Regions from separate parts of the Homo sapiens genome. Here regions 2, 3, 4, 5 and 6 are each linked to region 1. Evidence: promoter capture Hi-C in 16 types of primary human blood cells and fetal thymus (Javierre and others, 2016). All regions are on one chromosome and are shown on one strand. Each heading gives the region's core, a stretch centred on a gene start or on the middle of the fragment in contact. The rest is flanking DNA. Distances are from core to core; before and after follow the strand shown. Region 1 holds the start of MFN1 (mitofusin 1). Region 2 overlaps LOC124906307 (a long non-coding RNA gene). Region 3 overlaps ZMAT3 (zinc finger matrin-type 3). Region 4 overlaps ZMAT3 (zinc finger matrin-type 3). Region 5 overlaps ZMAT3 (zinc finger matrin-type 3). Region 6 has its middle 9.8 kb from the start of ZMAT3.

The links. Contacts are between HindIII fragments. The CHiCAGO score rates a contact against its expected background, and 5 or more counts as called.
Region 2: a fragment that was not itself captured here is called in contact with the fragment with the promoter of MFN1 in region 1 in 2 of 17 cell types (non-activated CD4 T cells and total B cells); the score reaches 5.2 in non-activated CD4 T cells.
Region 3: a contact is called between a fragment that was not itself captured here and the fragment with the promoter of MFN1 in region 1, in 7 of 17 cell types (fetal thymus, total B cells, naive CD8 T cells and 4 more). The highest score is 10.7, in fetal thymus.
Region 4: a contact is called between a fragment that was not itself captured here and the fragment with the promoter of MFN1 in region 1, in 1 of 17 cell types (naive CD8 T cells). The highest score is 5.2, in naive CD8 T cells.
Region 5: a fragment that was not itself captured here is called in contact with the fragment with the promoter of MFN1 in region 1 in 1 of 17 cell types (total CD4 T cells); the score reaches 5.4 in total CD4 T cells.
Region 6: a fragment that was not itself captured here is called in contact with the fragment with the promoter of MFN1 in region 1 in 2 of 17 cell types (monocytes and non-activated CD4 T cells); the score reaches 5.5 in monocytes.

The regions. Positions count from the first base shown.
Region 1 is chr3:179,345,593-179,349,742 of GRCh38, reverse strand. It overlaps MFN1 (mitofusin 1), which reads right to left and starts at 2,034. Exons shown (of 18, transcript NM_033540.3): 1 at 1,933-2,034; 2 at 780-898. The coding sequence starts at 891. RefSeq lists enhancers at 1,243-1,462, 1,796-2,325 and a silencer at 1,583-1,742. The HindIII fragment of the contact is 3,693 bases long and covers 1-2,668 here.
Region 2 is chr3:179,000,943-179,005,092 of GRCh38, reverse strand. LOC124906307 (a long non-coding RNA gene) reads left to right here. Exons shown (of 3, transcript XR_007096179.1): 1 at 1-1,032. Among named protein-coding and RNA genes, the nearest start is that of ZMAT3, 69 kb to the left of the region's middle. The HindIII fragment of the contact is 1,079 bases long and covers 1,591-2,669 here.
Region 3 is chr3:179,016,931-179,021,080 of GRCh38, reverse strand. ZMAT3 (zinc finger matrin-type 3) reads left to right here. Exons shown (of 6, transcript NM_022470.4): 6 at 1-3,858. Among named protein-coding and RNA genes, the nearest start is that of ZMAT3, 53 kb to the left of the region's middle. RefSeq lists an enhancer at 3,674-3,783. The HindIII fragment of the contact is 3,871 bases long and covers 144-4,014 here.
Region 4 is chr3:179,036,519-179,040,668 of GRCh38, reverse strand. The region is part of intron 2 of ZMAT3 (zinc finger matrin-type 3); the gene reads left to right. Among named protein-coding and RNA genes, the nearest start is that of ZMAT3, 33 kb to the left of the region's middle. The HindIII fragment of the contact is 2,034 bases long and covers 733-2,766 here.
Region 5 is chr3:179,053,578-179,057,727 of GRCh38, reverse strand. All of the region lies in intron 2 of ZMAT3 (zinc finger matrin-type 3), which reads left to right. Among named protein-coding and RNA genes, the nearest start is that of ZMAT3, 16 kb to the left of the region's middle. The HindIII fragment of the contact is 4,552 bases long and covers 1-4,150 here.
Region 6 is chr3:179,079,489-179,083,638 of GRCh38, reverse strand. No RefSeq gene overlaps it. Among named protein-coding and RNA genes, the nearest start is that of ZMAT3, 9.8 kb to the right of the region's middle. The HindIII fragment of the contact is 2,260 bases long and covers 1,050-3,309 here.

The DNA of each region.
Region 1 (4,150 bases), core at 785-3,284:
GGGTCAGGAGTTCGAGACCAGCCTGGCCAATATGGTGAAACCCTGTCTCTACTAAAAACACAAAAATTAGTCAGGCATGGTGGCACGTGCACTGTAGTCCCATTTACTTGGGAGGCTGAGGCAGAAGAATCGCTTGAACCCAGGAAGTGGAGGCTGCAGTGAGCCAAGAACATGCCACTGCACTCCAGCCTGGGCAACAAGACAAGACTCTGTCTCAAAAAAAAAAAAAAGAAGTATTCCCTAGTAAGACATGACATTCCTCATCACCTTTAACAGTTATGAAACTCCTTTTTCCCCCTTTCCACTGCAATTCAGCCTCATTTGAGAGAATGAGATATGTCTGAGGTCTTGGCTTAACTGCTAAATTGGGGAGGAGACAAGTATAATGGTTAAATGTGGACTGCCTGATTTTTTGTCTGGGCACTTATTAGCTGTGTGATCTTGGGCAAACTGTTTAACTTTTCTTTGACTTCGTCTCTTCATCTTTAAAATGACAGATGGTGGTGATGAAAATTAAATGAACTATTAACATAGCTATTTCTCATCACCTAGTGGTGATGAAAATTAAATGAGCTATTAATATACTAAAGTTCTTAGTTGTTATTAATACCATTTAATTTTCCCCTTCTGGAGGTTAGAAAGGGGTTTTATTCATTATGGTACTTCTCATAGTATACAGTATAATGCCCTATACATGTGTTCAATAACTAACGTTGAAAGAATAAGCACTTTTATATATTTTCAACAGTAATTACTTTAAAAACTTAAGAAGAACTAACCTTCAACAAAATGTGATCCTTCAGTAACAAACTCCAGTAACTGGTCAAAGATTGCAGTAATCGCCTTCTTAGCCAGCACAAAGTGCTTCAGTGGAGAAACAGGTTCTGCCATTATGCTACTAGAGGGAGATAAAGTTAGAAAAGCACCAACTAAAGTGGATGATAGACATGCAAACTGATGACACACCAGTGACATTCATCAACTCCCCAATGAAATAAATTATGCTGGCAAAATGTTTTTAGGTAATTCTTTTTTGGGAGTGTTCTAGTCAGACAGTTAGAGACGACTTTTGAATGATATTTCACTAAAATAAGTGAAATCTATTAGCCAAAATCTTGGTTGCAATTTCTACTCAATTTCCCTTTGGTGAAGACGAAACTAATTGTGACTAAGTTTGTCACTGCATGTGACTCTAAAGTACATCAGGGAACAGGGTTAGTGAGGCGAAGCCAAATTCACACACAATAAGGAAGTTACTAAGTTTCTCAACCTGAAGCTCTAGGTGAGTAGGAGTGGATATGCAGAGTGAGGAAATAAAATTCTAAGATCACAATGTGAGGCTGACATTTAGAAAGGTAAGGCTTCAAGAGGGCATTAACGCTTCCAGCCAAAGTACCAGAAACTTCAAGGACTATAAGTTTAAGAAAGCATAGGTGGTTTCTCAAGAAAAAGACACCAAAGACAAACAATCACGGTCTAATCCTGGTGTGTACATGGAAAGGAACAGTGGCCATAAAGAAGGCGGATTCTTCCAGAGAGTCAAGAAATGACCGCGCGAAGGAGCTGCGTGGGAAAAGCCGGGTGGGGGTAACGCCCCGGTCCGGCCGGTGTGAACACCTGCCTTAGAAAAGGCCTCCCACCTTCCCACACCGGGCGCAGGAGTCAGGGCCAGAGCCCACCCCCGCCCCGCGCACGACCGTCTAGGTCCGGATCCCCCAATCCCACCCCCGAGCACGGCCTCGTGGGCTCCGTGGGCTCGACTCGGCCGCCAGCCCCGTTCGCCCGACAGCTGGCTCTCTCCTTTCCCACAGGACCGCGGCGGGCGGCGCCTCGTCACACAACGCTGCATGCACGACTCCCGCCCCCGGTCCCCAGTCGCTCGAAGGTCACTCCGAGCGTCGCAAACGTGCTGTCGAGGCAGCCGGCACTCACAGTCTCCGCTCCAACTATCACCCGGCAACAGCAACTCGGCCACAGATGCCAAACTGCCTCATCTTCCCGAGAAGTTAAAGGCGGAGAGGAGGCAGGGGGAGTGGCAAAGGGCGGTCACTTCCGGCCTCTTGCCTCCTCTGTTCTGTTTGGCTCCGTGGCCGGAAGCGCATCTATGCCAGGCGCCATTTTCCTTAAGGGCAGAAGGCAAGGTTTGTTGTGGGCAGAGACTGCTACCAGGAGAGTGGTTTTCCGTTCCCCCTTCCAACTTCTTCCCCTCCCTTCTCCCCTCAAAGTGTCCAAGTATCTGCCCAGCCTAGGCTTAGCTAGCTTCCAATGATGGTGGTGGCTGACGCCTATAATCCCAGCACTTTGGGAGACCGAAGGGGTGGGATATCTCTTAAGCCCAGGAGTTCGAGACTAGGCTGGGCAACATAGGGAGGCGCCCCCCCCCCCGCCCCCGACCCTCTTCCTCCTCCCCGTCTCTACAAAATTAAAAAATGAAAAATTAAAAAAATTTTAAAAACTTAGCGAGGCGTGGTGGCACACACCTGTGGTCCCAGCTACTTCGGAGACTGAGGCGGGGGGATTGTTTGGGCCCGGGGCTGCAGCGAACTGTGATTTATCGTGCCACTGCACTCCAGCCTGGGCAAGAGAGCGAGACATTTTTTCAAATAAATAAATAAATAAATAAAAGAAAAGAAATCCAGATCGTATTACTTTCCGAACTTAAAAAGCTTTCCAGGCCGGGCGGGGTGGCTCACGCCTGTAATCCCAGCACTTTGGGAGGCCGAGGCGGGCGGATCACAAGGTCAGGAGATCGGGAGCATCCTGGCTAACACGGTGAACGCCCGTCTCTACTAAAAATACAAGAAGTAGCCGGGCGTGGTGGTGGCGGGCGCCTGTAGTTCCAGCTACTCAGGAGCCTGAGGCAGAGAATTGCTTGAACCCGGGAGGCGGAGGTTACAGTGAGCCGAGATCGCGCCACTGCACTCCAGCCTGGGCGACAGAGCCAGACTCCATCTCAAAAAAAAAAAAAAAAAAAAAAAAAAAAAAAAAAAAGCTTTCCAACAGCTTGCCATTATACTTAAAATTAAAGCTTCGGATGGTAACCGCCCAAGGAAAGCCTTCACCTTGCCCGCTGACTAGCCAGAACTGATACAAGACAGGGGGATTGCAAATAAAGACTTAGTCACGCAAAGCCGGCTGTATGGGAGACTGGAGTTTTATTATTACTGAAATCAGTCTCCCCGAGCAGCACTGGGGAGCAGAATTTTTAAGGACAATTTGGTGGGTTGGGGGAGGCCACTGAGCCAGGAGTGCTGATTGGTCAGGGATGAAATCGCAGGGAGTGGAAGCTGTCTTTCTGCACGAGTCAGTTCCTGGGTTGGGGGACACTAGGTCAGATGAGCCAGTTTATCGGTCTGGGTCGTGCCAGCTAATCCATCAGTTCTGAGCATAGGTAGTCTCAAAGGGAACATTTACTCTGTTTGAATTTTAAAAATCATGATGGTATCCTTTTATTAGTTCTGTACTTAATAATTATATTTAATATAATTACTGCATTTTAAAGCAAGAGTGACATATTACAGGCTATAAATTATAGCACGGTAATTAAATGTTTAATATAGTAAGTAATAAGAAATTTAATCCATTGCTTTTGTGTGTGTGTGGAACACACATATTACCAAAAAGCCAGGAGAGTAAACACAAAGAAGGAAAAGAATTAAAATATAAACGCTAAAACCAACATAGATATTAACAAAAACTAACGTTATTTGAAAGAAATTATCAATTTGATGTATCACTGCCAAATCTGTTCAAGAACATAAAAAATGAAAGGACACAAATTAAGGGGAGAATAACTATAGATATATATATAAATGCCAACAAATTGAAAAGCTTAGATGAAGTATAAAATCTGGGAAAACATCAAATACCAAAATTAGACCGAGAAAAAATAGAAAACTCGAATAGGCTAAGTTTCCCACATATTCAAAACTAGCCAGGTCTAGATGATTTTCGGGGTAACTTTCTATTACATGTTTAACGAAAAGATTAATCTTGCCGGGTGCGATGGCTCACGCCTGTAATCCCAGCAGTTTGGATCATGAGGCGTGTGGATCATGAGGTCAGGAGTTCGAGACCAGCCTGTCCAATATGGTGAAACCTTGTCTCTAATAAAAAACACAAAAATTAGCCAGGCGTGGTGGCAGGTGCC
Region 2 (4,150 bases), core at 881-3,380, 340 kb after region 1:
AGGTCCAGAAATGCCATCCAAGAGCCAAGTCCTGGAATGGGGATCCCAAGAGCCTATTTGGTGGTCTACCCGGCTTTGGCTGAGCTGGTACCTAAGGTGTAAGACAAAGTACTCTTTACTTTTCCCTCTGCTTCCTCAAGCAGATGGAGTTTTGCCCTGTAGCCATCAGATGTGGGAATGTTCTGAGTCTCACCTGATGCCAGTAAGTCTCAGAGGCTTACCCAAGGCCCTCAACATAATATGTGGGTAATACTGCTGGTTGTTTAGGACCCAAGGGCTCTTCAGTTAGCAGGTGATGTATGCTGCCAGGTCTGGGTCCTTTCCTTCAAGACAGCAGATTCCCCTCTGGCCTAGGATGTGTCTAGAAATGTCATCTGGGAGCTAGGGCTGGAATGGGGATCTCACGATCTTGACTGGTGCCCTTTCCTGCTGTAGCTGAGCTGGTATTCAAGATGCAAGACAAAGTCCTCCCCACTCTTCCCTCTCCTCTCAAGTGGAAGGAAGAGATCTCTTTTGGAGCCTTGAGCTGTTCAACCTGGGTTTAGGGGAGAGGTGATGCCAGCACTGACTTAGTTGCCCTAGTAGGTGTTTCAGTAGGTCACATACTCCCATAGTCCACTGTCTCTGGGCCCTGCTCAGCAGTAGGACTCTCCTATGAGTTGCAGTCCTTGTGGCTAGACTGCCTTTCTAGTTTATTTAGATCTGAGCACTTTAGCCCATGGTGGTGAGGCTTGTGGGAACTCAAGTTCCAACCACTGGGATCAGCGATACCTCTCTGGCTAGGGCTGTTCTAAATGCTCCCTCTGTGGGTGGATGTTGGCTGAGTTTGGTCCAGTTTTCCTTTCAACTGTAAGAAAGGCAGCACTGAGTTCAATGCCTCATAATCGCTGTGCTCTTCCTTTCCCCAGGATACAGAAATGCTCTCTGCACTGCGCTGCCACTGCTGGGGGATGGAGGGATTTTGTGTCAGCAACTCAAGACTGTTTTTTCTACCCTTCGGTGCCTCTTTCAGTGATATGAAGTTAAAACCAGGTACTTTGAATGCTCACCTGATTTTTGGTTCTTATGAAGATGCTTTTTGGTGTGTAGATAGTTGTTAAATTGGTGTCCCTGTCGGGGGGACGATCATTGAAGCCTTCTATTCTGCCATCTTACTCTGCCTCCTATCCTCATTCTGTTTTATCTATATCATTCTTCTTTTATTCCTTCAATGTGAAATAACCTTTAAATAACCTCTAAACTAGACAAAATTGCATTTCCATGAACAAAAACTACATCTTTATGTCTCATTTATAAACTTCCCTGCCAAAAACACATCCTATCTTGTATATTTTTTCTTTATATCTGTATATTGTTTTCTTTATATCTGTGTATATATATAGTTTTCTTTATATCTAATATTTTAAATTATATATATTAACTATAATTTTAACTACTACTAATGAGTAACCCTCATTTCCAGTGAAAAACCAAGAAAGTTAGAAATTTCCATTGTTGTGTACCAGATGGAGAGCCCAGGACAGAGGACAGAGCTGTGATAACAATGCCTGAAGGATTCAACATTTCCCAACTTGCCCAGGAGACCAAGCTTGGCCAGGAAAGATGGGGCCATAGTGGGCTTAGCTCTGTTCTGTAGCCCAGACATTGGTGACACACATATTTCCCCAGGCCTCACCATGGCCACCTGTCTAGACTCCAGAATCTAAAGGCTCAAAATCAAGGACATAAACTCACAGGAAGTTGCATGCAAGGATTTGGGGGAGCCCAGAAACCAGCCCACATAGCTTTAGCACACTGACAAATAATTACCAAAATGTGGGAGCTAAGCAATTTGAATACATGGAGGTATAGTACAAAAACACATAACAGAGGCTGGGAAGAGTGAATGGTAGGGAGAGGGAAGTGGTAGGGAGAAGGGAATGGTAGGGAGAGGGAAACTGGAGAGGATAGAGAGAAGTGGGCTAAAGGGTACAAACATACAGTAAGATATATTTTATATATATATATAATCTATTCTATAATGTCTGATAGCAGAGTAGGATGACTGTATTAGCAAAAGGGTATCATACTCAGGTGGTGGATACTCTAAATACCCTGACTTGATTGCTAATATATACATATAACAAAATTTCTCATGTACCCCATAAATTTGTACAAATACAAAAAATAAAGTCAAAAAATCACAGAAGCAAAAGTTTTATGACTTTAAAACATGTAGTAGAGACAGTATAAATTGGTTTGACCGGTAGAACCATGCAAAAATGCTTAAAATTCTGAAGACATTTCTATTTTATTATACCAACAATTTAAAAACTAGCTGTATTTATCTAAGATTGCTAGTCATGTGAACTTGAAAATCATTTGGACTTATTTACTGAATTTATGAGGGATCATTTATGTCAATTTTGTACCATGTAGACTATATATAAACACAAAAATGTACAAATGTATACATAAAAATGCAGACAAACACAGATTTTATAGATTTGATTTTCAAATTTTGCCGTGAGACAGGTAAAACTCCCTAGTTTAAAAGTACTGTTGGATTAAACTGTGCCTCTGTAAATGTAACAAGTTAAAATTTATCTATGCCACATGGTTTAAGTCCCTACTAAGTTTAAAGGAAACAGGGTAGCAAATTTACTGTCAAACAAAAGAGAATTTAAGCTTTTTCAAGAAAAAGTTTGGGTGTGCATTACAGACACAGAAGAAGTTTAAAAATAGATATCAAGATAACACAAAATCATAGGAATTCATCACATACTTTATAAGGAGACCAATTTTAGTTAGATTCGTAACTTCCAATTTAGTTTCTGTGTTTTTACTGTACCATGGAGCTCAGGGCAGTGAATAGGGCTTACAAGGCTTTTGTAGTTTTCAGGGCCCAGTACTTTATATGTAGAAAGCAGGCTTAGCTGGAAGGCAGAGCACCTAGATCCCCAGAAACCAAGGATCCCATTTTTACACTGAATCCCAGGTGCCCCAGAGCTGAGGCAAAAGGCCAAGAGGGAAATGTCATGGGGCTAGGCTGTGCAACAATTCTACAGTGGACCTCATTGCAAGGACATTTTCTTTGAGGCTGTTGGGAAACCTAATGCCAATTAGCCCACTCCGTGACCAGCCTATCCCCCATGGGAATTTTATACCTTGATAGCAAGTGTTCCTACAGCCTCCAAGTGTCCAAACTGTGCTTTTCTTATCTAAATACTCAAACAATTAGCCTCACTTCAGTAATAACCATTCACTGAACAACTGTCAGCCACCTCTAAAACTGCAGTGACCTATCAGCCATCCAACACCCAAAGGTTAAGTGTTCTTTCACAGTAAAAAGTAACCCCTGGTATTCCTAAAAGCCAAGGAGATTGGGAAACTCAATGCAAAACGGAGCTGAGCTTTAGACCTGAGAGCAGCCTGCCCAGGACTCTTGGGGTTCCATGAGGAATACAGAAGACCCTAATGATATGGACAGGAGACGAGGAAATACTGGGTAGAAGAGGGCAGTTGCCCTGCAAAGGCCCCATCCTCAAGCCTGGATACCTGCTGCCCTAAATGGGAACAGGCATACCTGTTTTCATGTCCAAAAAGTTGTCTTTTCGCCCACCACACCCCGTATTCTATACTCATATAAACCCCAAACCCCTGAATCCAGCAGGAGATAAGCAGACGAACAGAAGAGCAGAAGAGCGGCAGAGAAGGAGAGAAGAGAAGGAATGTCAGGAGGAGTTCAGCTGGGGATGGTCGGAGAATTGGCTGCTGGATGGCCCAATTCTAGGGGAAGATCACCTTCCCACTCCATACACTTTCCAGTTCCCCATCTATCCTGCTGAGAGCCACCTCCACCACCCAATAAAACCCCAAATTCACCATCCTTCAAGTCCATGTGTGTCCCACTTCTTCTGGGATGCTGGACTCTTGTCGGGATACAGAAAGCTGTCACACTGGCCCTCTGCCGTTGTAAAAAGGCAGAGGGTCCACTGGTTAACAATTAAGCTGTCTGTGGATGGCAAGGCTAAAAGAGTGGACTGTAACACATGCCAACTTGGGATCTGGGAGTCACAGACTCCCACTCCTGGACGCTGCTGTGAGGCTGAAGCCCAGTGCTCCAGCTTCTGCACCTGTCCATCTACATGCTCCCCATCCCATAAGGGGT
Region 3 (4,150 bases), core at 830-3,329, 330 kb after region 1:
TTGGTAAACTTAGAAAACCAGGTAGGATTTTTGAAGCCCTGAGTTTAAAAGAAGAATCGTGGCTATTTGACATCATCCTTACATTCCCCTGACTTAAAAAGCTAACAAGAAGCACGAGATCTTCCACCTCATTTTAGAAAGCTTTTCTACAGAACTATATGCTTGCTTATAGCTACCTATCTACAGTTTGAACAGGGAGAAAGGGAGATATGTATGTCTGGTTACATCTTCCTTCACTCTTGAATTGGCTGGGACAGCAAGCAACAACAGTTTGAGGTCCAGTGACCTACGTAAAATGAGTGTCGTTTGTGTCAGGGGACACATGTAACTGTGCAACATGGTATTTTCTACAGGGAGGGCTAGGAAGGGTGGTTTTGGAACCTAACCTACTTTGTGTCTTCATTGTCAGAACTAAGGTTGGAAATGCCCTTTAAAGAACTTGGTGAGGCATATGCTAGGACAATAGAGCTGCTTTAGAAAGAAATTGAGACATGTTTTGTCAGGACAGATAAAAGTTTAATGCAGGCTTTTGAACAGATGTTTTAAAACAAATTTGACCTTACCAACTATTTTTTTCTTCTAGCCAAATCATTGTACAGGAGTTTCATATATGATAAAAAGTGTTTTGTTATTGTTTTTGCTTTCTTGGCAGGGGAGAACCCCTACCATTGTGAGCAGTTACTGTCACTCTGGCTGAATGGACAAATAGCTGTGTAAATAGCTTCTCATAAAACGCTTCTACTGATAGCTGTTTGACTTTTTCTTCCCGTTATGAATGGGAGGAACATTTGTAAACTTCCTTTCTGGGTAGCTACCAAAAAACGTACTGGCTTATGGTCCCATGTGACCTTGTCTCCGTTAAGCCCAGAATCTGAGTGCCTTTAGCAAGTGTTAGCATTTCACAGAGAGAAGAGAGACAGAATTATTGCTATTAATCACCATTCATAAATAGGAGCTTGGAATAACAAAGGTCTGTGTGAATTCTGTTCTACGTCTTTTTTTTCCCTTTTTTAAATAAATGTCAATTTGATATCAAGTAAAACTATTGTCATTATTGATCAGAAACCATACATTCTGAAAATGAATCCAGTTTTCCCAAGCTGGCAGAAGTCAGAGATCATTTTTCACCTTGATCTGTGTTGCGTTTGTACTTAGTGAATGGCAGTGTGGTTGATTGGAAGAGCTTGACACTGATGTTTGGAAAAATTCTTTATTCTAGTGGTCATTTTCAAACTTGTCTTCTGTAGAGAGGGGAAAAATTATGTATTTGCAGCTAAAGCGAAGAGACTGGCACAATAATTATTAATTGTGTTAGTTCATTTCTATATTAAATGAAGCATCTTCACAAATCAGGTTTGAAGCCATTAAAAGCAAAATTTTCCCTAGTTTAATTAATTTAAAATTCTAAATTGCCTGACTACTTAGAATCTTAGAAACGCCCTGCTAGACTGATTTTATTATAGAAATGTTAACATGTTCCTCAACATTTTCTCAAGAAAATTTTCAGACATATATCAAAGTTGAAAAAACTTTGCAGTATAACCACTGCTAGATTCTGCCATCAACATTTGACTATACTTGTATTGCCATGTATCTGTTCATATTCTCTATCCCTCTTTTCATCCATCGATCCATCAGATTTTTTTTTTAAAGAACATTCCAAAGTAAATTTTAGGCAATACACTGCCCTAAATTCTTAGCATGGGTGTCATTAATTAAGGTTTAGTATTCGTTTAAATATCTATTTTGAAAGTGGTGTATGAAGTTGATAATCTGAGCCAATTAACATACTTTTTTTTTTTTCCTCCTGTGGACTTTTGTCTTCCAGTTTCTCTTTTTGTGTGTACTTAGGGTGAGGGAGGACAATTCCTTTCAAACACAAGTTTATTTTAGAATTGGTCATTTTTAAGTGCTTGTCATAAATTTTAAAGTTTCAATATAATTTTTCTTTTCCCCACTTCTGATAATGTATTTTTGCCAAACTATGCAGCTTCTTCAAAAAACTGTAAATTACTGATTGGGGTTTATGAAATCAGCGAATACCTCATTTCAATCTGTTGCTGCTTTTCTCCCTCTTGTCACTTCTCCTTTCACTACTTTCAGCTGCTCTACCAGAAGGTAGAGGGGAGTAAAGGGTCAAACCCCTATATAATTAGCTGTTTTAAACAACTCTAGGAGAGCAGATTAAGTAGCTTAGTAAGTTGAAACTATTAATTTTTCTAAAGAATTTGATTTGAATTCCTTGAGAATTGTAATTATCCACACTTCCTCCAGCTATAATTAGCAGAATTAAAAATGATTGTACTGTACAATGAGTTGTTGAAATTGTAAGCCTTAGTAACCATCTTTAGCTTTATTGTAGTCATGTTTAGAAAAAATTATTTTTACATATGCCTTTATTTTTATGCCCACTTTTTGTGGATAAGATTCTTTAGATAAAATCTAAAGAATTTTAAGTGACTTTCTCCAGGTCATGAAGATTCAATGGGTAGAATTGAATCAGAATTGAAATGTTCCAGATTCATATTCTTGTGTGTGTTTGATAAAATTCATGGCTTCCAAAGTAACTGAACACTTCCTTTGGGCCCTTGGAGGGAAAATCCATATTTTTACTAATTACACTTTTTTTTTTAGACATCTGGCAGTTCTTTGAACTTAAACATATTCTCATGGCCATAGTTCCAAATTAAGCCCGACGCAGTTGCTAAAAATCTTGCTGCACTGTTGAATACTAATAATGCAACATTTATTGGATGTTTTTGCATTTTGATGACCTTCATGATTCATTTATAAGTCTTTGTAAGTGCTTAAGTGACCCCCTCACTAGTGAAAATAATAAATGTTCTATATCATTTATTATTATTTGTGTATTCTCTACATGATATATTTTTTTAAGGAAGAGTAACTCCACATGTCAGAATGAGTGATATTATCCTAGGGCAAAGCGCAAATAGGGCAGTTTGTTTCTACTCTGCAAATATGGCATGTATAGGAACAAAACTCTTTTGGAGTGGCTGGTCATTGTTCTGCCCTCTTTTGGTACCTGAGTACCTTTCTGGGGTTTTGTAAATCGTGTGTCATTTGTAAGAATTTCACGTTAACTCTGCGTTACTTGGTGTTCACCTGTGGTATCCTTGACTGACCATAATGATTTAGTTTGGGTATGATGTGTCTGCTTTGAAATGCCTTACTGGAGTATGTCAGATCCTGCTTTAAAGCATTCCATATATCTGCTGGGACAATAAGTTGCTTCTCCTTGGAAATATGCTCTAGATTCAGAAGCAAAACCGATTTTGCTTTCACCATTAAGGTTGCATTTTAATGCAGTTATTGTTTTAAATTAGAGAATAAAATGTAAAACCAAGGGAGGCTTTAGAACCCTTTATTGAATGGCATGGCAAACTTTTAAAACTGCTTTTGCTATTTCACTAGAACTATCTTTGATAAAGGATATAGCTAAAAAATGTCAGCCCAAACTGTGTGTAATTAGGGTTGTTTATTAAAATTTTCTCTAAATGTCATACAGAGGCTTAAGATCTGTGTATGCTGTTGGGTCGGAGTGCCAGTCACTGCTTTGGAAGTCTGTGTTCTGGGGCTGCAGAATGACAAACGTGTCATGGGATTAAAACCAATCAACTGTGAATTGTGAAATTGAAACTACTCTTTCGGTTTTATTTTCTTTAGCATATTGAGTATAGAAATCTGAAACTTATTTAAAATTTATACTGCTTTTGTTGATGGCTCATTTTGGCTGTGTATCCTCACTTATGTACTGATTTCTGATAAAGGCTTGACATTATTATAACACGCATTTTGTGTTCCAGTTTAATAAAACGGTTTCTGAGTCTTGTCTGAAAATTGTTTGGTTATGAGTTGAAGATCAAGGGAAGAAGGTAAATTGTCATCACTGAGACGTTATTTTGATGCCGATTCTCGATGACTGTGGGTTCTCCATTCATCAGTCTGCACACAGTCTGCCATGGTCTTCTGGAAATCATGCAAGTACTGTAAGCTTTTAGGTTGGCAGTAGAATCAACCTAGCTGCCCACACTGCCCGTTCTCCCCATCACTGGAGTTAGCCTGGGACTGGAGTGAGTTCTCAATTTTGTTGGTAGATTTTAATATTTATTTTCCCTTCAAATTTTAAGAA
Region 4 (4,150 bases), core at 500-2,999, 310 kb after region 1:
TTGATGCAGTTTTTTCATAGCATCGATGGTCTTTATAATTTGGCAGTTTTTGCAGTGGTTGTTACCGGTTGTTTCTATGTTTAGTGCTTCCTTCAGGAACTCTTGTAAGGCAGGCCTGGTGGTGACAAAATCTCTCAGCATTTGCTTGTCTGTAAAGGATTTCATTTCTCCTTCACTTATGAAGCTTAGTTTGGCTGGATATGAAATTCTGGGTTGAAAATTCTTTTCTTTAAGGAAGTTGAATATCGGCCCCCACTCTTTTCTGGCTTGTAGGGTTTCTGCCGAGAGATCCGCTGTTAGTCTGATGGGTTTCCCTTTGTGGGTAACTCGACCTTTCTCTCTGGCTGCCCTTAACATTTTTTCCTTCATTTCAACCGTGGTGAATGTGACAATTACATGTCTTGGGGTTGCTCTTCCCAAGGAGTATCTTTGTGGCATTCCCTGTATTTCCTGAATTTGAATGTTGGCCTGCCTTGCTAGGTTGGGGAAGTTCTCCTGGATAATATCCTGAAGAGTGTTTTCCAACTTGGTTCCATTCTCCCTATCACTTTCAGGTACACCAATCAAACGTAGATTTGGTCTTTTCACATAGTCCCATATTTCTTGGAGGCTTTGTTCATTTCTTTTTACTCTTTTTTTCTAACCATGTCTTCTTGCTTTATTTCATTAATTAATTTGATCTTCAATCACTGATACCCTTTCTTCCACTAGATCGAATTGGCTATTGAAGCTTGTGCATGTGTCACGAAGTTCCCATGCCATGGTTTTCAGCTCCATCAGTCATTTAAGGTCTTCTCTACAGTGTTTATTCTAGTTAGCCATTCGTCTAACCTTTTTTCAAGGTTTTTAGCTTCCTTGCGATGGGTTCGAACATGCTCCTTTAGCTTGGAGAAGTTTGTTATTACTGACCTTCTGAAGTCTACTTCTGTCACCTCGTCAGAGTCATTCTTTGTCCAGCTTTGTTCCATTGCTGGTGAGGAACTATGATCCTTTGGAGAGGAGGCACTCTGATTTTTAGAATTTTCAGCTTTTCTGCTCTGGTTTCTCCCCATCTTTTTGGTTTTATCTACCTTTGGTCTTTGATGTTGGTGACCTACAGATGGGGTTTTGGTGTAGACGTTCTTTTTGTTGATGTTGATGCTATTCCTTTCTGTTTGTTAGTTTTCCTTCTAATAGGTCCCTCAGCTGCAGGTCTGTTGGAGTTTGCTGGAGGTCCACTCCAGACCCGGTTTGCCTGGGTATCACCAGCGGAGGCTGCAGAACAGCAAATATTGCAGAACAGCAAATATTGCTGCCTGATCCTTCCTCCGGAATCTGCATCCCAGAGGGGCACCCATCTATATGAGGTGACTGTTGGCCCTTACTGGGACGTGTCTCCCAGTTAGGCTACATGGAGGTCAAGGAGCCACTTGAAGAGGCAGTCTGTCCATTCTCAGAGCTCAAACACCATGTTGGGAGAACCACTGCTCTCTTCAGAGCTGTCAGAAAGGGACATTGAACTTTGCAGAAGTTGTCTGCTGCCTTTTGTTCAGCTAAGCCCTGCCCACTGAGGTGGAGTCTGGAGGCAGTAGGCCTTGTTGAGCTGTGGTGGGCTCTGCCCAGTTCGAGCTTCCCAGCCACTTTGTTTACCTACTCAAGCCTCAGCAATGGCTGAGGCCCCTCCCCCAGCCAGGCTGCTGCCTTGCAGTTTGATCTCAGACTGCTGCGCTAGCAGTGAGTGAGGCTCTGTGGACGTGGGACCTGCCAAGCCAGGCACGGGAGAGTATCTCCTTGTTTTCCGGTTGCTAAGACCTTGGGAAAAGCGCAGTATTTGGGCAGAAGTGTCCTGTTTTTCCAGGTGCAGTCCGTCACGGCTTCTCTTGGCTAGGAAAGGGAAATCCCCTGACCTCTTGGCTTCCCGGTTGAGGTAACACCCCACCCTGCTTCAGTTCGTCCTCTGTGGGCTGCACCCACTGTACAACCAGTCCCAGTGAGGTGAACCAGGTACCTCAGTTCAAAATGCGGATATCACCCGTCTGCTGCATTGATCACGCTGGGAGCTGCAGACCAGAGCTGTTCCTATTTGGCCATCTTGTATTTTATTTTATTTTTTGAGACAGGGTCTCGCTCTGTCACCCAGCTGGAGTGTAGCATTGCAGTCATGGCTCACTGCAACCTCAACCTTCTGGGTTTAACTGATCCTTCCATCTCAGTGCTCCCAGCAGCTGGGACCATAGGTTTGCACCACCATGCCTGCCTCATTTTTCTTTTTTTAGAGATGGGGTTTTGTCATTTTGCCCAGTTTGGTCTCAAAGTCTTAGACTCAAGTGATCCTTCTGCCTCAGCCTCCCAAAGTGCTGGGATTATAGGCATGAGCCACTGTGCCTGGCCCTAGTTCCATGGTTTTAAATTCCACCTACATACTGATAACTCCTCAGATTCTATCTCTAACCTGACCTCGTTCGTAAACTCCAGGTTGGTCTCTCTTTGGACATCTGAAAGGGATCTCAGACTTAACACAGCAAGTGGGTCTCTTGATGCCCAGCTCTTCCCCCTTTCTCTACATTGCATGGCTGGAGCCATCTCATGCTTCAGCTTTTAGCTGACATGTATCTCCCCAGAAAAGCCTTGTCGGCCCACCCCACTCTCTCCCTGTCCATTATCTATTATATCATCCTGTTTTATTTTTTGCAGAGCAGTTGTCAGTAACTCTTTTTTCTTTGGTTGTGTGTGTGTACATATATATATGTACATGTATATATTCTGTTTATGTCCCCTAGAAAAGCTTCTTGAGGGCAGAGACTTTGCCTTTGTTCACTGTTTTATCTCCTTTTCTTAGAATGGTTGCCAGAACATAGAGGGTAGTCAGTAACTATTTAACCCTGTTATCTTCCGCCAGAGTTGTAGATTCAAATTCTCACCTGTTTTTAGAAGACTTCTAAACCTTCTTAGCCTTGACTTCCTTAGTGCTAATGTTGCAGCTTTTGTAGTTCAGCAAGCGGGAGGAAATGGCACACTGGCTTTTTTTCCCCGTTGCTCAGTGAGCAGGAGGGAGGGTTGCAGTGTAAGGATTCCTTTGGTGCTGCTTCACCAGCCGGAAATCTCTGTGGGTGCTGTGTCCTCTGCCTGGGGCCTCATTCCACCGAGCTCACTCCGCCCACTCAGCCTGGCAGGCTGTGCTCGGCTTGTGCCTTGGCCTGGATCCTGCGCCCGCTGAGGGATCTGCACTCAGCCCATGGCTCCACTGGGTGTGTTGCCAGCAGCTTCTGCATTGGGTGTCGTTGTCTAGATGAGGGGAATGTGGGTGGTGCCCGAAAACTCAGAGATGTCAGTAATGGCAGAGTCCCAAGGGGTGTTACAGCTCTCATCCGGGGAGTCCCAAGATTTGACCTCCCAAGAAATGTTGCAGCTTTGTATTGTTCCTGCCACCTGCAGCTTGGCGAACAGGGGCATGTTACAGCTCAGTCGGTCCCACCACCCGCAGCTCAGTGAATGGGTGTGTGTTACAGGTTGGCCTATTCTGGGTTCTTCTCCTGCGACCAAGAGGAATAAGAGGAATAAGGTACATGGACACTGGAGAGTGAATAGGGTGGAGAAGAATTTCATTGAGCAATAGAAGGAAAGCTCTCAGCAGAGAGGGGGCCCAAGAGTGATTAGCCCTGTGTGTGAGAGGGGACCCAAAAGAGGTTTGCCATCTGTGGGGTTGAGTCTGGGATTTTTATGGGCTCAGAATGGGGGAGTGCGTGCTGATTGGTTCACGGGTCGGCTTGGAAAAAGCACCATTTGATTGCCTAAAAGGCATCGAGGAAGTTCTCACTCTCGTTGTGGACTCCACCTGCAACTGGCAGCTCAGTTTTCAGTCTTTAAACTGTCTTTGGCATGAGGTTGGGTTTCACAGGGACCCATCCCTGTCTGCCTAGGAATTTGTCTGTCTCCAGTTGCTGTCACTAAGCCACACATTGCACTGTCTCTTGGATTCATTAAGATGTCTTTCGGTTGTCTCAATCTCATATTGAGATTGAGATTGTTGACTCTATCTTCTTCCCCAAAGCCTTTTTTCCTCCCCACACCTTTAAAAATTTTTCATAAATATTTCCATCTACCCTGCGGTTCACCTCCCTTCTACCCTCTTATCCAATATGCTATTACTTGTTCTTACCTTCTTCATAGT
Region 5 (4,150 bases), core at 797-3,296, 290 kb after region 1:
CGTTCCTCACTGAGGGCCCTGGTGCCTTTGGATAATTTTAGCCGTAAGTATTTAACCTGCTGTGAGCAGAGCTGAGCCTTTGGTTTGGAAACCTTGTAGCCACAGGTAGTGAGGAAATTTAAGAGTGCTTGGGTGGCTTGATGGCACAAGGTTTCTGAATGGGCAGCTAAAAGTAAATCATCCACGTACCGAAGGACAGGAGTGTCCAGGTATTATGAGAATTGGCTCAAGTCTTGGGCTAATGCCTGGCCAGATAGATGGGGGCTATCCCTCAACCCTTAGGGTAAAACAGTCCAGGTGAGTTGAGACACTGGGTTCCAAGGATCTTCAAAAGCAAACAAGAATTGACAGTCAGGATGTACAGGGATGCAAAAAAGGCATCCTTAAGGTCCAGGACTGTAAACCACTCTGCTTCCTCTGGTATTTGGGAAAGCAGAGTATAAGGGTTAGGTACAGCTGGGTATAGAGGGACAGCAGCCTCATTGATAATCCTGAGATCTTGCACTAACTTCCACTGTCTGTTGGGTTTCTGTACTCCTAAAATTGGAGTATTGCAGGGGCTATTGCATGGTTTTACTAGGCCTTGGGCTTTTAGGTCCTTAACAATCTTTTGGAGTCCTTGTTGGGCCTCGGGTCTAAGGGGGTACTGCTTTTGGTAGGGAAAGGACGCGGAATCCTTTAGTTTAACTTGAACTGGACAGGCATTCTTTGCTCATCCATATTGTCCTTTTGTTGCCCAGACTTCAGGATTAATTCCTTCCTCAAGCTGGGGACAACAAATGGGTGTTCCTTCTCCTATGTTCAGGTGTATAATGGCCCCTGCTTTTGCTAGAATGTCTCTCCCTAACAAAGGAGTGGGGCTTTCAGGCATAATTAGAAAAGCATGTGAAAAGAGTAAAGTTCCCCATCACAACTTAGTGGCTGGGAGAAGTATCTAGTGACTGGCTGTCCTAGGACCCCTTGGATAGTGACAGATCTGGAGGACAGTTGTCTGGGACAGGAGAGTAAGACTGAGAAGGCTGCGCCAGTGTCCAGGAGACAGTTAACCTCCTGGCTCTCAATGGTCAAGCATACCCGGGGCTCTGTGAGGGTGATGGCATGGGCTGGCGCTCGCCCCGGGCACCCTCAGTCCTGCTGCTGGATCATCTGGTTAATGGCTTCTGACTCAGAGTATCTTCATCCCCTGGGGCAGTGGGCCTTCCAGTGATTCCCTTGACGTAAGGGGCATGGACAAGGGGGCGGCTTATTTCTACTTGGATAATCTTTTTTAAAGTGTCCTTGTAGACCGCACTGGAAGCCAGCCCTATTAGGCATTTGATTTGCCCAGCTTTTCCCTTTTGCAGAGCCTCCAAAGTCTGCTTGCCTGAGGGCCATGACTAAAGTAGTGGACCCCCCCTTTTTTTTTTATCCCGTTTGTCCCGTTTCGCCTGCTCCTCCTGATCTCTATTATAAAAAACTGAGGATGCCAAGTTAAATAGGGTTTCTAAGTTCTGCTCCGGGCCTAAGGCAGACTTTTGAAGTTTTTTCTAATGTCTGCAGCTGACTGAGTGATAAACTTATCCTTTAAGATTAGTTGGCCTTCAATAGAGTCAGGTGACAGGGAGGTATGCTTCCTCAATGCCTCCCTTAGTCTGTCCAGAAAAGCAGTAGGATTTTCTTCCTTTCCCTGTGTTATAGTGGACATCATTGAGTAATTCATAGGCTTCTTCCTAGTTTTCCTCAGTCCTTCTAGCACGCAAGTTAGCAAATGTTTGTGGCACCAATCTCCATGTTCTGATTCTGTGTCCCAATGAGGGTCTACACTGGGAACTGCCTGCTGGCCTGTGGGAGTTGTTCTTTCCTCTGTTGTCATCCTATTGTTGACCTGACTGAGATACCAAAGATCGCCAAACTCTCGGGCTGCAGTTACAGCGGCACTTCTCTCATTTGGGGTTAGTGTCTGATTTAGTAGTAACATTATATCTCTCCATGTCAGATCAAAGGATTGTCCTAACCCTTGTAAAACATCAATATAGCCGTCAGGGTTATCTGAGAATTTACCTAGGTCTATTTTAATTTGCTTTAAGTCTGAGAGAGAAAAAGGTACAGGCACTCTGGCTGGGCCGAATTCTCCTCCTCTCACTGCTTGGAGGGGGCATAATCGGGGAATATTGGCACTCTTTGGTTCATTGTTTACCCCTTTGTCTATCTCCTTTTGGACCGTTTGGGTTAAAGGGGGGTCCTTATTAGTTGAGGAAGGAGTCGGGGAGGGGACGCTGGGGTAGGGAGGTGGACTCTGAGGGCTTCCTGTAGGGCATAAACCACACTTTTTACATAATTGTGAGTTGTCTCTTAATGAAAAGAAAGTTTGCACATATGGCACTTCACTCCATTTGCCCTCCTTTCTACAGAAGAGGTCTAGCTGTAAGATGATGTTATAATTTATACTTCCCTCAGGAAGCCAGGTTTCTCTCCCTTGAAGAGGATATTGTGGCCAGGCGGTACTGCAGAAGAATATAAATCGTTTCTTTCTTAGCGTCTGAGTGTCACATTGGTCCCAATTCTCCAGAATACATCTTAGGGGCGTTTTTGCCTTGGGGGGAATGTTTCCCATCGCTTTGGAGGTCCCTTTGTGGTTGCCAAAATGTTACTGGGGGGTCCTTGCTCCCAGAGCTCCCAAGATGGCGGCGGGCCACTTCCAAGATGGTGGCAAGCCTCGTGTTCTCTGACCTGGGGTTCTTGGCCTCACGGATTCCAAGGAATGGAATCTTGGGCCATGTGGTGAGTATTATAGCTCTATTAGAAGCCGTGGGTCATGGAAGAGAACCATGGAACCCAGTGACTAGTGTTCAGCTCAATTAGGATGAACCCGGGCACTTAGCCGTGTGGGAACAATGGCAAGCCTTTAGCCCAATTGGGAGCAGCAATGGGCGCCTCGCTGGATCAGGAGCACAGTGGACACCCTGCTGGATCCGGAGGCATGGAAGTCGCCGGCGGGTCTGCGATGGCGGCAAGCAGCAGTGTTGGATGGTGAGCGAAAGCTCTGCTCCAGCCTTAGCAAACACGGACCAGAAGAATGCAGTTGCAAGATTTAATAGAGTGAAATAGAGTGAGAACAGAGCTCCCATACAAAGGGAGGGGACCCAAAGAGGGTAGCCTCATATTGAATTTTTTAATTTTTAAATTTTAATGTTACATTTCAAACATTAACATTTTACATAATTACAGTACAATTGTCAAAATCAGGAAATTAACACAGATTTAAATAAATAAGACTTCCAGATTTTTTATTCTCAATTCATAGCATCTGTTTTATAGGATATTAAGAACCTGAAATCGCGGACTTTGAGGTCAGACTAGTATTTGATGTTGTGGTCTTACTACTCGCTAGATGTATGATATCGAAAACATTTCCTAACCCTTCTCTGCCTCATGAAGAAGGAGATGATGATGAGGAGGATGATACTAATAATATCTGCATGTTAGTATGTGTGGGGCATTTAGAATAGTTCCTGGTACCTGAGATAGTCCTTGACAGTGTTGAGTGGTCCCAAGGTGCAGTGGAACCAGATTGTCCCAGCTCTGCATTGGACAATTGTGGCATTGGCCGAGTTTTATTTTTATTTTATCAACATTTTAGTTTGAATTATTTTAGACTTACAAAACAGTTCCAAAAGTAGTACAAATAATTCCTGTATGCACCTTATTCAGACTCCCCAAACATTAACATTTTACATAACTACAGTATAGTTGTCAAAATCAGGAATTTAACACAGATTCAAATGATATTGTTTAATCTATATACTGTTTACATTTCATTAATTGTGTACTAATGGCCTTTCCCTGGTTCTAGTTATTTAATCCAGGATGAAATTTTGCAGGTAGTTTTCATGTCTCCTTTAATTTGGATAGGTCCTTGGTTTTTCTTTGCTTTTTATCATCTTGCCATTTTTGAAGGGTTGTTTTGTAGAATGTCCCAAATTTGGGCTTGTTTGATGTTTGATTAAATTCAGGTTATGTGTTTTTTAGCAAGAATACCACAGAAATGATACTGTGTTCTTCCTAGTGTGTCATGTCAAGAAGGATGTGATGTGAATGTCTTGTATTACTGGTGCTGTTAACTCTGATCACTTGTTTAAGCTACTGCCTGCCATGGTTCTCCTTTGCAAAG
Region 6 (4,150 bases), core at 930-3,429, 270 kb after region 1:
TGAAGAAATCCTACATTTCTATCATCTGTATATATATATATATATAGAGAGAGAGAGAGAGAGAGAGATTCATAAAATGTTATATTTGTCTATGACTGAGATATAATCTAATCCAAATAATTTATTATGCAAATAAAGATGATGCCCAGAGCTATTGATTTATCCAAAATCATTTCAGAAATGAGTGGCATAATCAGTACATCTACCTAGGTTCCTGACACCTAGTTCAGTTTTTCCTTCCAGCACTTAAATGTCAGTCAGTATAGTTGTCACCAGCTGACCAATTGAAGTAGCTGGTACTTCACAGCAAGACCTGCTTCTCTGAGCTTGTCCCTCTGACCAGAGATGATGGATCCAGGCATGGACATCTGACCTACTCTTATTCAAGCAAATTCTGGGTCAAGGTTGTTAAGTTTGGAACAGAATGAGATTCGGTCTTTCCTGAGGGTGGAAGTCATGAGCTGAAAGCCTTGGGAACTCTGGGCACCCATGTTTCCTTCCTTGTGGGAGAACCAAGGCTGCAGTGAAGCAGAGTGAACTCTGTTTGCCCTAAGAAAGAAACAACTCCTAAAGAGCAAGAGAGACTCCAGGCAGCATCTGAGTCCTCACTTCCAGGTTCCCAGCTGCCTTCCCTATAGTAGGGCTACTAGAGAATCTCCAGGGTCTTTCCATTCCTTTGGACCAAATCAATTTGAGTGTGTTTCTGTCATTGTCACAAAAAACATACATATTGAATAACTAGAAGATTTATAGCAACATTCTAATCTCCCAAGGAAAGACAAATCAATATTGAGCTTCTACTACATGTCAGGTACTGGAAATACATTGTTTTTTCAACCTAACAATCCTATGAAGCTGGTCTTATTTTCTGCATTTTAGATTAGGGAAGTGAAGTTCCATGCTAAGTCAGAAGGCCTTAAGTACCTGCATTCAAATTTGAATTCAGATGCTCAAATTCCAAAGTTTGTAATCCTTCCAATGAGTCACATTGCCTTAAATTCACTGTGATCTATGCTTTGCTACTCAAAGTGTGACATCACCTGGAAGCTTGTTAGAAATGCAGAATCACAATCCCAACGTCAGACTACTGAGACATTATCTGTACTTTAAAAAGATTGCCAGGTGATTCGCATGCATGTTCAAGTCTGAGAAGCTCTGATCTAGTAGAAACAAAGGTACAGGGAGATGTAAGCTGAATAACTTTGAACGGTAACCTAACATTTCAGAATCATCTCTAAAATAAGTAAAATAATATCTACCTCACTGGAATTATTGTGACTGAGAAAAGAAAAATATCTCAGAGCAGTCTGAGCTATGCAAGGTGTACAAAACTTATTAGGCCAAGAACAACATGAATATGGGACTTCAGTCATTCATGCGCTAACCCCCTTGTGCCTGGGGCAGTTATTTAAAGGCATTTGTTCCTGACTAGCTGCCTCACTCACTATCTCAATGTTCTGGAATTTGTGTTACAAAGAACAATGTATAGTCAAACAACAGCTTAAAATTTTTTTTTAGAGATGGTGTCTTGCTATGTTGCCCAGGCTGCTTTCAAACTCTTGGCCTCAAGGGATTCTGCCACTTCAGCCTCCCGAGTAGCTGAGATTATAGATGTGAGCCACTTCACTGGCTCTCATGTTTTGTAATGTAAATTCTTGGTAAACAACTTAGGAACTGCCTCTTCTGCTTTATAAGCCTACTTGTAACTGCTGCTAATTGGAACATATATTCAGGGCAACATGAATCTCTGCTCCCAGGTTGCAATCCTCAAACTTGCCCCAATTAAACTCTCTACTTATATTAAATTTGCATCATTTTTTTCTTTAGGTCAACATGAGGATGATATGAGCTAGGGTATAAAAGCCCTGGCTAGAGTACCTAGCTAGGGTATAGTGCCTGGCATAGTAGGCTCTTACTGTAGTATCCTTACATTCCAACATTAAATAAATGTATCATTCTTCTCGTTGTTGGACAGCACTGATAAACACATACACAAAATGATGCAGATAAGAATGTATGTATGCATAATGAACAAGCATTTCCTCAAAATAGTATTGTGACTGCAAGCGTAAAAGGTCAAAGGGAAATATGGTTTGATTTTCTTTGTCATAATGGGTATACAAAATTAAGTTCACACTAGCGATGTCAATGGCAAAGCAACAATGAAAGCTAACCAATTTGAATAAGAGACACAGAATTAAAACAAAAGTTAACTCTAGTAATTTTAGAAGTAGCAGAGAAGTTGTGTAGGTTGAGAGAGGGAAAAGAATATTGGATCAGAAAAGGAATACAGTTTTTAGGAAAGTTGCTAATTATTTCTACTGCTTTCAGATCATAAGACCTAAATTGGATAATCATATAACTCACAGGATACAGAAAAGAAATGTGATTGCTATTGTATTAAAAATATTCATTTTCTCTCTTGTATATTGATAGACCTGTCCACAAGGAAGAGTGTAGAATTTTAGCAATAGTACAAGTAGACAATAAAGTATTTTAAACACTTGAATATAATTCAAGACTTTGGTAATTTTTCTCTATGCCAGAAATATTACATAAAAGAAAATGCTTTTTTTTTTAGAATTTCATTAAATATTGTACATACAATGAAGAAAATCACAAAATGTTAGTGAAGAGCATGAAAGTCTTCAATCATTGTACAGTGGTAGGAAAGAGAATAGTGTAAAATTTTAACTTATCCACAAATGTATGTATAGATTTGACAAAATTCAATTGAAATCGCAATGGAAGTTGAGGAATTTGACAATGTGATTCTAAAGTTAATCAAGAAGTATAAACAACAAATACTAAGCAAGGAAAGTAAAAATAAAACAAACAAAAAACTAGGAATGAGAGATACACATTTTTAACGAAGTAATCTGTATACATAGTTTAAAGAGTCACAAAAAGGTAGGGGGACTTATATTAATCTCCGCCTAAAAAATTACCCCAAGCTGGCTGGGCACAGTGGCTCACGCCTGTAATCCCAGCACTTTGGGAGGCCGAGATGGGTGGATTGCCCGAGGTCAGGAGTTCAAGACCAGTCTGGCCAACATGGTGAAACCCTGTCTCTAATAAAAATACAAAAAAATTAGCTGGAAGTGGTGGCGGGTGCCTGTAATCCCAGCTACTGGGGAGGCTGAGGCAGAGGAATTGCCTCTGCTGAGGCAGAGATGGAGGTTGCAGTGAGCCGAGATCGCTCCATCGCACTCCAGTCTAGGTGACAGAGCGAGACACCGTCTCAAAAAACAAACAACCCCCCACCAAAAAAAAACCAAAAAACAAAAAACCCCAAAATTACCCTAAGCTTAGCAGTTTATAACAACATTCATTACCTCACATGGTCTCTGTGGTTAGGTCTCTGGGACTGATTTAATTGGATGGTTCTGATTCAGGGTCTCTCATGAGGTTGCAGTCAAGTCAGGAGGCGGCCATCTAAAGGCTTGACTGGAACTTGGACGATCTACTTCTAAGGTCACATGCCATGTGGGCCCCTCCAGAGGGCAGTTTCAGTGAGGCAAGGGTCTCTAAAAGAGCAAGCAGTTCGTCTTCACAAGTAGCTCTTTTAATAGGTTCACATTCTGATCTTTTAGGAGCAAAAATTTCCAGAAGCAAGTAACGAAGTTTTGTTCTGCTTGTTCTAGTTTTGTTAAACACAGGTACGGGAAAGTATGGCTGGTCTCAGAATCATTTAACAGAAGATGGGAAACTATGTTTGGTTTTAACATTGTTCAGCACAGGAGCAGGGTATTATGTTGGCTTCTTTCTCAGATCTACGAAGGGAGGTATGGGATACTTGGCATATATGCACCCAGGAGGGACTGGTGACTGCAACTTTAGGGTTAGAATAGACTTCACAGAAGAGGTGTCATAGAAGCCGAGACCCATAGGATGAGTCAAACTTCCTTTCCTTATCTGTCTCTCTCTTTCTTGTCTTGTCTTGTCTTGCTTTGTCACCGAGGCTGGAGTGCAGTGACCCAATCTCAGTTTACTGCAGCTTCAACCTCCTGGGTGCAAGCAATCCTCCCTCCGTCACCTCCTGAGTGTCTAGGTCTACAGGTGCATCCCATCATGCCTGCCTAATTTTGTTCATTTTTTGTAGAGATGAAGTGTCACTATATTGCCCAGGCTGGTTTCAAACTCCTGGGCT